3 separate regions of the Homo sapiens genome follow, and all the other regions are linked to region 2. The links are contacts of gene promoters, found by promoter capture Hi-C in human tissues and cell types (Jung and others, 2019). All regions are on one chromosome and are shown on one strand. The core of a region is centred on a gene start or on the middle of the fragment in contact, and the rest is flanking DNA. Distances in the headings are between cores, read along the strand shown.

Region 1 (3,002 bases), core at 450-2,949, 600 kb after region 2:
CAGTCAGGCGTGGCGGCGCGCGCCTGCAATCGCAGGCACTCGGCAGGCTGAGACAGGAGAATCAGGCAGGGAGGTTGCAGTGAGCCGAGATGGCAGCAGCACAGTCCAGCTTCTGCTCGGCATGAGAGGGAGACCGTGGAAAGAGAGGGAGAGGGAGACCAAGGGGAGAGGGAGAGGGAGAGGGAGCTTAAAAATTGTTAAATTGTTATACATTTAAGGAAAAAACAGTGACACTGGAGGGGCGAGGCCAGTGGAGGTGCTGTGTGACCTCGGGCAGAGCCCCACCCATCTCTGGGCCTTTGGGGTCCGTCTGCGAAATGAATTGAGGGAGGCGCTGGCTCAGTAGTCCCTTCAGGGTTACCTAATCCCGCTTCTCCTCCCGGACTTAACGGCCTACTGTCTCCCCTCTAGTATCCATTGAAACCTGGCCTAAGGTCCCAGACCTTCCTTTCAACTCCAAAGACCCATCCTCCCAGGCAGCCTTCCAGGCTGATCACTGTGCCTCCAACTCCGTCGTTCCTGTTCCGATCCCCATCACGGGCTGAGGGTGACCGTGTTTGTTTATGACCGCCCCCTCCACCCACACACCTCACTGAGGTGGTGGAAGTCTCCTGAGCCAGGCTCAGAGGCGGACAGTCACGGCAGGGGATGGGTTCAGCGGCAGCGCATTACGCTGCCACGAGAGGGCGCCAGCGTCCCGCAGACGACGCAGAGGCAACTCCCGCTGGAGAAACTCCATGCGACTTTTCTTTGGGGAAACTGAAGCCCAGAGAGAGGTCACGCCGTCCCGTGGCCACACCGCAGCTGTGGACCTGGGGGTGCCCGAGCGTCCCCTGCATTCAGCTCTGTGGCGGGACGGGGGCTGAGGATGACTGGAGCAGGCACAAGGGCTGCGGGGAAGGTAGGGTTTGCCAGAGGCTGAAAATTGGGAAGGGAACATCATTTCGTAGGTACCGCTCCTGGGCGAATGCGCCGAGGCGCGACCGAGTGACGGTATGTCAAGAGCAGGTTGATGACCCGGGAGCGAGGCTCTTGGAGGAGTCCAGCTGGGGCTGCACGATGATCCATGCACAACCTTCTGAGGTCAGGACTGATTTTTACTTTCTCCCGGCTCTACAGAGGTGGAAACTGAGGCTCCAAGAGGTTGTCATTTGCCCAGAGCCACCAGCTAAGCGGGACTTGAATCAGGAAAGGGGTGCAGCAGGCACCAGTGTGGAGGGCGGTCCCACCCACCTCCTCCACTTCTCCCTTTGCATAGCGGGGGAAACAGGCCTGGAACAGTCATAGGCTCTCTGGCCCTCAACTGGGGCGAGAGTCCCCCGCCCCAAATCGGGCTGGACATGCCTCGAGTCACGTCAACGAGGGGCGGCTGGTGAGTGATTAAGCCGAGAGGCTGAAGGCTCTGCTAGGTGACCTCAGGCCTGGGCCCTGCCTCTGCACCTCTTTTTTTCCTCTTTACCCCCGGGGTCCGCGAGAGACCAGCTCTGGCAGCCTAAGGGCTTCAGTTTCTCCCCGGGGTCCGCGAGGGAAGGGGGCAGCCGGCGGTGAGCAGGGGCGTTTGTTATTTTGCTCCACGCCTGGGCAGAGCCACGCCCCTTGTCGCGCTATTGGTGGAGTCCCTTCCCGGGGCGGGGAAGAGACGGTGACCCCACCCCCCCCCGCCCTGCCGTATAAAAGCGGCGCCGACGCACGGCGCGGGGATTTTCTGCTCCGGTTGGTGAGCGCGCCTGCGCGTTGACGGCGATTTTGCGTTCTGAGGCTGCAGCGTCGGCATCTTGAGCTGCCGGTTCGCGAGTTCGAGGCCAGGTTCCGCCTGTCGTGGGTTCGCACCCCGGACGCGATGCTATTCGACAAGGTGAAAGCGTTCTCGGTGCAGTTGGACGGCGCGACCGCGGGCGTCGAGCCCGTGTTTAGCGGCGGCCAGGCCGTGGCGGGCCGGGTGCTGCTGGAGCTGTCAAGCGCCGCGCGTGTGGGTGCCCTGAGGCTGCGCGCGCGGGGCCGCGCCCACGTGCACTGGACCGAGTCGCGCAGCGCGGGCTCGAGCACGGCTTACACGCAGAGCTACAGTGAACGCGTGGAGGTCGTGAGCCACCGCGCCACGCTCCTGGCGCCAGGTACGGATGGAGGACCCCTGCTCCAACACCAGTTGTGTGCCTCCCACCACCTGGACGGCGGTACCTCCGTCAGCCCTGGGACCCCAGCGCAACCGCTCAGTCGCCTCCTTTTTCTCCTACCTGCAGATACCGGGGAGACCACGACGCTGCCTCCTGGGCGCCATGAGTTCCTGTTCAGCTTCCAGCTGCCCCCGTAAGTCCTCTGGGGTGCAGGGTTGCCCTAAGCCTGCAGCCCCTTCCAGATTGGTACCTCCAATACTGGATATCTGGGCACCTCTGAGCCCCAAGACTCTCCCCCTGGGAGGCCCCCGGAGTGTCTGTGTCTCCTTCTCCCTGCCTGCTTGTCTCTGTATCTTGTCCCCTGAAGTCCCGTCCCTCCACCCTAGGACCCTGGTGACATCCTTCGAGGGCAAACACGGTAGTGTCCGCTACTGTATCAAGGCCACCCTGCACCGGCCCTGGGTCCCAGCACGCCGGGCAAGGAAGGTGTTCACTGTCATCGAGCCTGTGGACATCAACACGCCAGCCCTGCTGGTGAGTGGCCACCCTTGGGGAGGTAGGTTGGGAGTATTGTAGGAAGGGGCCTGCCTGGCTGCTGGGCGACACCAACCAATAAGATGGAGGTCATAGGTGGGCCCTGGCAGGGAGGGAGGCAGGTGTGGGAATGCGTGTGGAATCCACTGGGATCTGCACCCATTTGCCGTGTGACTCTGGGCAAGTGTCTTGAAGCCCTCTCTGAGCCTCAGATGCCTCTTCTGTGAAATAGACCAGAGCTAGGGCTTACCAAGTGTGAATTACACACCAAACACTTGGCTTATACATTTCATTTCTGGCTTTATAAGATGGGTTGTGTTCCTGGCTCTATTTAACGGATAGTTCCTGGATTGT
Region 2 (2,761 bases), core at 185-2,684:
GGGTGGGAGGACAGAAACAGGGGGCGGGTCAGCATGTGGCCATGCTGGGGCCCTGCTCCACTCTGGGACAGAACCTCCCCCTTACCCCAACCTCCAGCCCTGGTCTCCCTGCCCCCACCCCCTCTTCCATACCTGACTCACCCCTCCCCGGCCCTCTCCCTTCTCCCTTTCTCACCCTCAAGCTCCTCCACTTTCTTTTGTCCTTGGGCCTTCTCTGCATCCAGGGAAGCCATTAGGGCCATCTAAGAAGAGTTAGAATCTGGGGTTTTGGCCTGGGGAGTTTGGCTGCTGCCCCTGGGACCTGGGCCTCCTCCCTAGGTCCTGGGGACAGAGGGGCTTAAATGCAAACCCCTTTCAGGTTTTCTTCCAACCCTCTCTGCACCATGGTCTCCAACCTTAAAGAACAGCCACAACCACACACTCTCCCAGGGCCACCCATAAGCATGTGGGTCCTCAAAATGGGAGTTTTGAGGCCACCCCACGTGGAAACTTGGAGGCTATCGATAACCAAAGTTTAGTGGACATTTCCAGATTGCCTGAGCAATGGCCCAAGAAAAGTTAGAGGGCCCTACCAAATCCAGAATGCAGTGGGATTTCCCCGCCCAAGTGACATGCCCAGCGAGAGTTTCAAGATCCCCCATATCAGGACCCAGGTGAATATTTCAGTTTCTTAGGGATGAAGTGAAAATTTCAAAAGCCCCCTTTTTCAGGGTCTGGTGAGGTCCCCCTTCAACCCTGAATAGGGATTTCTACTCCCCCAGGACTGGTGCCCACGAGGAGTTTCAAGGCCCCCGACACCAGTGCCCTGGAAAGAATTTATAAATTCACCTAAGTCCCAGGGGGATACTGAGGTCCCCGATTTGGGGGATCTGGAGAGTTTTAACACCCTGCCCCTACACCAGTGCCCTGGACTGGGTTAGGGGCCCACAAACCCTGGTAGGGGAACCTAGGTCCCTTGATGTGGGGGCCCAGGAGCAGTTTCAGGACCTCCCCTGCATCTCCCTGGAGACCCACCCTGGGTCAGATTTCTGGGGAGAGATTCTTGTCCCTCCCACCGCCTAGTACTAGGCCATCCAAAGGAGTTGAGGAGCTTACCACAGTGTGGTTGCAGGTGGCGGCCTGGGCCTCCACATCCTGAAAGCCCTTCTGGGCCTCGGTCAGCTCTTGTTGCAGGAGATGGGTGACATTGCGACACTCCATCACTGCCCGAAGGCCGTCCCGGCAGGCCTCGCTGTTGGCCTTGATGGTGAAGATAATCAAGGGCACCCCCAGAATCACGATGATCAGGAGCACCAGAATTCCTATCCCCAGCAGAAGCTTACAGCGCTTATCCCCGTCTTCCATGGGCACTCTGCAATAGTCATACGAAGTAGATGCCATCCAGATCTCCCCTTTAGAGTCTGGCCTGGAGTTAGGGGAGGGTGCTGGAATCTTCTACGGGCCACCCCTTTATTAGCATAGGAAACGTCCTGACCAATAGCAAGTTCCAGGAAGTGCTCTGACCAGCAGCTCTTGCATGAGGCACCTACAGGCAGAGGATTAATTAGGTTTTCAGTTTCAGTTTCCCAGAAAGGAGGTGGGCTTTTTTTTCACCCTGCTTTAAAAGCCCTTGGGCCCTTCCCAGCTGGGTGCCAGCCAACTGTGGCTGCCTGGGACACTCCATCTTAAGTCCCTGTGCCTCTGCTGTGTGTTACTGAGTGCCTAGGCCGTGCCAGCCTGTATTCATCTGTACTATGACCTGAAGAGGCAGAGGCCATCACTGTTGGTCCGGTCTCCACCTGGGGAAACTGAGGTTGCACAGTTGCGTGGTGGAGTGAGGGCAGGGCCTGGGTCTGGGGGCGGGGCCTGGGTCTGACCCCAGGGACTGGTTTTTGTGTTCAGGTGTCTCTGTGGTGACGAGCAGGGCTTCATCCAGTGCCTCTGTCCCCACCGAGGGGACTATGGGAGACATGGAGGGTGTGTGAGCAACAGGTGAGACTGGAGCCAGCTGAAAACTGGGAGACCGACCCAGCCAACAAACAATGTCGGTCTCTGTCTTGGCACCTGCAGGAAACAAGCTCCTACTTCCAGAAAAAGTGCTCCTGGGACTCCAGGATACCAGGTAAACTCTCTGAGCCTGTTTCTTCATCTGCAAAGGGGAATAACAGGGCCAGCCTCAGACACTGTCCATGTGGCCAAGAGAGCCAGGGCTTCCTACAGGAAATCAGGCCCATTATCGGCACCCAACTGCTGGGCATGACCGCTGAAAGGGGACTGCATGTTTTTCTTGTGGCTTCTTCAGCCACATCCTGACCACAGCCCAGATTCTGTTAGGTCTGCCATTTCCATGTTTTTTTTTCTTTTCAGCAGGGCCAGACAGTAGGCGAGGTCAAGTCCAGAGCCCAGGCCTCCCAGAAGGCCTGGGGAACTCCCCCCAGGCCCTGACTCCAACATCCCTCAGAAGGACCCCATTAAAGCCACTTAGAGCCAGGCATGGTGGTACATGCCTGTGGTCCCAGGCTGAGGCTGGGAGGCTGAGGCAGGAGGATCACTCGAGCCCAGGAGTTTGAGGCTGCAGCGAGCTATGATTGTGCCACGGCACTCAAGCCTGGGTGATAGAGTGGGATCCCATCTCTTAAACCAATAAACAAAAAAATCACTTAGAACCAAGAACCAATTAACAAGCTGTGGGAGATGATCTTGCTGAAAATTCTGAGGGTGAACTTGTCCCAGGAGGAGGGACCTACCAGCCTGGCCAGGACTCCAGGTGCAAAGACACGAC
Region 3 (3,052 bases), core at 533-3,032, 680 kb after region 2:
GACCCCGGCGCCCTCACTCCCACAAGAAGGACCTGTCCTGAGCCCTGCAGGCAGATTGGAAGCCTTGGGGGAGAAGGCGGCACCCCAGGAAACAGCCCCAAGTGTCCAACCTTGAGGGGGGAAAGATGCTTAACACACAAGGCTCTCCATCCTTCCATCTCTCTCTGTGATGACACAGAACCCCCACCCACCCACCCACCCCTGAGAGCCTAAAGCCCATCCTCCTTCCCTTTCCCTGGACTGACCACTCACTGCCACTATCTCCAGGATACCTCGTGGGCTGCCTCTCGCCCCCTCCCTGCTGCTGGTCTCCAGCCATGCCTGGCCCCTGAAGGCGCTGGGACCTTGAGGTGTGGCCAGCACTGCTGTGGGCATTCTACAGGCACTCAGTGCATCTCAAGAGCCATTGAAAAAGTCAGCACCCCGCTGATCCCCAGTGTACAGAGAAGGAAAGTTTATTTATTATTATTATTATTGAGATAGAGTCTTGCTCTGCCACACAGGCTGGAATGCAGTGCTGCAATCTCGGCTCACTGCAACCTCTGCCTCCTGGGTTCAAGCGATCCTCCCACCTCAGCTCCTAAGTAGCTGGGAGTACAGGTGCCCATCATCAAGCCTGGCTAATTTTTGCATTTTTAGTAGAGATGGGGTTTCACCATGTTAGCCAGGCTGGTCTCGAACTCCTGACCTCAAGTGATCCACCCATCTTGGCCTCCCATAGTGCTGGATTTTCAGGAGTGAGTCACCGTGCAGGGCCTGAGATTATTAAAAGTATATGGGAAGGCTGGGCATGGTGGCTCATGCCTGTAATCTGAGCACTTTGGGAGGCCAAGGTGAGTGGATCATTTGAGCCCAGGAGTTCGAGACCAGCCTGGGCAACACAGCGAGACGCTGTCTCTGTAAAAAGTATACACCAAAAAAATTAACCAGGCATGGTAGTGTGCACCTGCAGTCCCAGCTACTCAAGGGGCTAAGGCAGGAGGATCACTTGAGCCCAGGTGGTCAAGGCTGCAATGAGTTATGATTAGGCCACTGCACTCCAGCCTGGGACACAGAGTGAGACCCTACCTCAGTAAATAAATAAATAAATAAATAAATAAATAAATAAATAAATAAATAAGTAAAGTATACGGAAGGATGTGCATAGGTTATATGCAAATACTTTACCATTTTATATCAGGAACTTGAGCATCTTTGGATTTTGGTATCTGCAGAGGGTCCTGGAACCATTGCCCCGTAAATATGGAAATGACTGTATACATTATATTATGTATGTCTATCTATTGTAAACTACATACATAAGATACTATACTATGTATACCTATTAGATACATACTTGCTTTTTATTCCTTCCTTAGTTTTTTTTCTCATTGAACTCCGGGAGGTGGAAAAAATTTAGTGCATTTCACAGAAGAGAAAATCTAGACCAGAGGAAAGATGTCTAAGTTCGATCCCAGAAGCCATGACTGCCCATCTCCCATTTGACAGCAGGAAAGACTGAGGCACAGAGAGATGAAACCAACCCACACAGCAGGCCCACAGCTCTCCACACATACACGTGCCTCCACCCAGCAAGAGGAGCCGCCATGCCAGGGTCAGGGGACTCACCGCCCTGCCTGGACAGCAGGAAGAGGAAGAGGAGGGGGACCACCCAGGTCACCAGCGGCTCCATCGGATCCACGTAGAGCCCCACAGCCCCAGGGGAGCCTCTCTGCCACCTGCGAGGTTCAGCCACCCCGTCCCCACTCCGGAACACATTGAAGCTGAGCAAGGAGAAAAGACTGAAAAAAAAGAAAAAAGAAAAAAAGTAAAGTGTCACAGCCCATCCCTAAGGCAAGTCAAAGTGAAAGAGAAACCCAGGAAGTCAGCTCCGTGGTGGTGGTGATGGTGGCGGCCACAGACTCTGGAGCAAGTCTGACTTTGGAGCAAGTCAGGGTTCTAGGGGGTTCTGCCCTGCTGGCCCCAGACCTGAACTGAACACCCAGATGCCAGCCCCATGGGCCCATGGGCCACCTGTGGTTCCATGCACTTGGCCAGGTCTCTGGCCCTCTCTAGCCAATTTTTTTTTTTTTTTTTGAGATGGAGCCCTGCTCTGTCGCCCGGGCTGGAGTGTGGTGGCATGATCTCCACTCACTGCAACTTCTGCCTCCCGGGTTCAAGCAATTCTCCTGCCTCAGCCTCCCGAGTAGCTGGAATTACAGGCAACTGCCACAACATCGAGCTAATTTTTGTATTTTTAGTAGAGACAGGGTTTCACCATGCTGGCCAGGCTGGTCTCGAACTCCTAACCCTAAGTGATCCACCCACCTCAGCCTCCCAAAGTGCTGGGATGACAGGCGTGAGCTACCGTGCCTGGCTGCCAAATTCTTTTTTTCTTCTTTTGAGATAGGGTCTTGATCTGTGGCCCAGCTGTAGTGCAGTGGTGCAATCACGGCTCACTGCAACATCAACCTCCCCAGGCTCAGGCCATCCTCCTACCTCAGCCTCCCCAGGAACTGGGACTACAGGCATGCACCACCACGCCCAGCTAATTTTTGCATTTTTTTTTTTTTAAGAGAGGGGGTTTTGCCATGTTGCCCAGGCTGGTCTCAAACTCCCGGGTTCAAATGATCCGTCCGCCTTGGCCTACCAAAATTCTGGGATCACAGGCGTGAGCCACCGCACCGGGCCATCTCGCCAGCTTCTGAATCTGAGACTCAAGAGCTGAAGGAGGGCAGTGTTCTTGGATGGCCTAATTTCATCCTTCCAACAAATTGTTACAAAGAGCTTGCAGCATGCTGGCCCTCCACAATGCCCACCTCCCCACATGCCAAGCTCCAGCCTTGTGCACCTGGGCTCACCCCTCTAATCCCAGCACTTTGAGAGGTCGAGGTGGGAGGATCACTTGACCCCAGGAGTTTGGGTCTACCTAAACAACATAGCAAGACCCCATCTCTATAAAAAATAAAGAATTAGGCCAGGCGCGGTGGCTCACGCCTGTAATCCCAGTACTTTGGGAGGCCAAGGCAGGTGGATCACGAGGTCAGGAGTTTGAGACCAGCCTGACCAAAAT

Evidence for each region. Contacts are between HindIII fragments. The study calls those that stand out against the background at their distance.
Region 1: a contact is called between the fragment with the promoter of ARRDC2 here and the fragment with the promoter of BST2 in region 2, in 1 of the 25 tissues and cell types used here (heart right ventricle).
Region 3: a contact is called between the fragment with the promoter of IL12RB1 here and the fragment with the promoter of BST2 in region 2, in 1 of the 25 tissues and cell types used here (stomach).

The regions. Positions count from the first base shown.
Region 1 is chr19:18,006,471-18,009,472 of GRCh38, forward strand. It overlaps ARRDC2 (arrestin domain containing 2), which reads left to right and starts at 1,700. Exons shown (of 8, transcript NM_015683.2): 1 at 1,700-2,114; 2 at 2,241-2,307; 3 at 2,501-2,648. The coding sequence starts at 1,841. RefSeq lists an enhancer at 1,754-1,973. The HindIII fragment of the contact is 21,109 bases long and covers 1-2,885 here.
Region 2 is chr19:17,404,196-17,406,956 of GRCh38, forward strand. BST2 (bone marrow stromal cell antigen 2) reads right to left here and starts at 1,435. Exons shown (of 5, transcript NM_004335.4): 1 at 1,096-1,435; 2 at 176-242. The coding sequence starts at 1,380. BISPR (BST2 interferon stimulated positive regulator) reads left to right here and starts at 1,491. Exons shown (of 4, transcript NR_130766.1): 1 at 1,491-1,576; 2 at 1,882-2,101. It also overlaps a transcript of MVB12A not described here. RefSeq lists enhancers at 614-1,352, 1,337-1,396, 1,467-1,846, 2,037-2,096, 2,147-2,196 and 1 more. The HindIII fragment of the contact is 15,018 bases long and covers 643-2,761 here.
Region 3 is chr19:18,085,152-18,088,203 of GRCh38, forward strand. It overlaps IL12RB1 (interleukin 12 receptor subunit beta 1), which reads right to left and starts at 1,783. Exons shown (of 17, transcript NM_005535.3): 1 at 1,609-1,783. The coding sequence starts at 1,672. RefSeq lists enhancers at 1,695-2,044, 2,055-2,114. The HindIII fragment of the contact is 62,137 bases long and covers 1-3,052 here.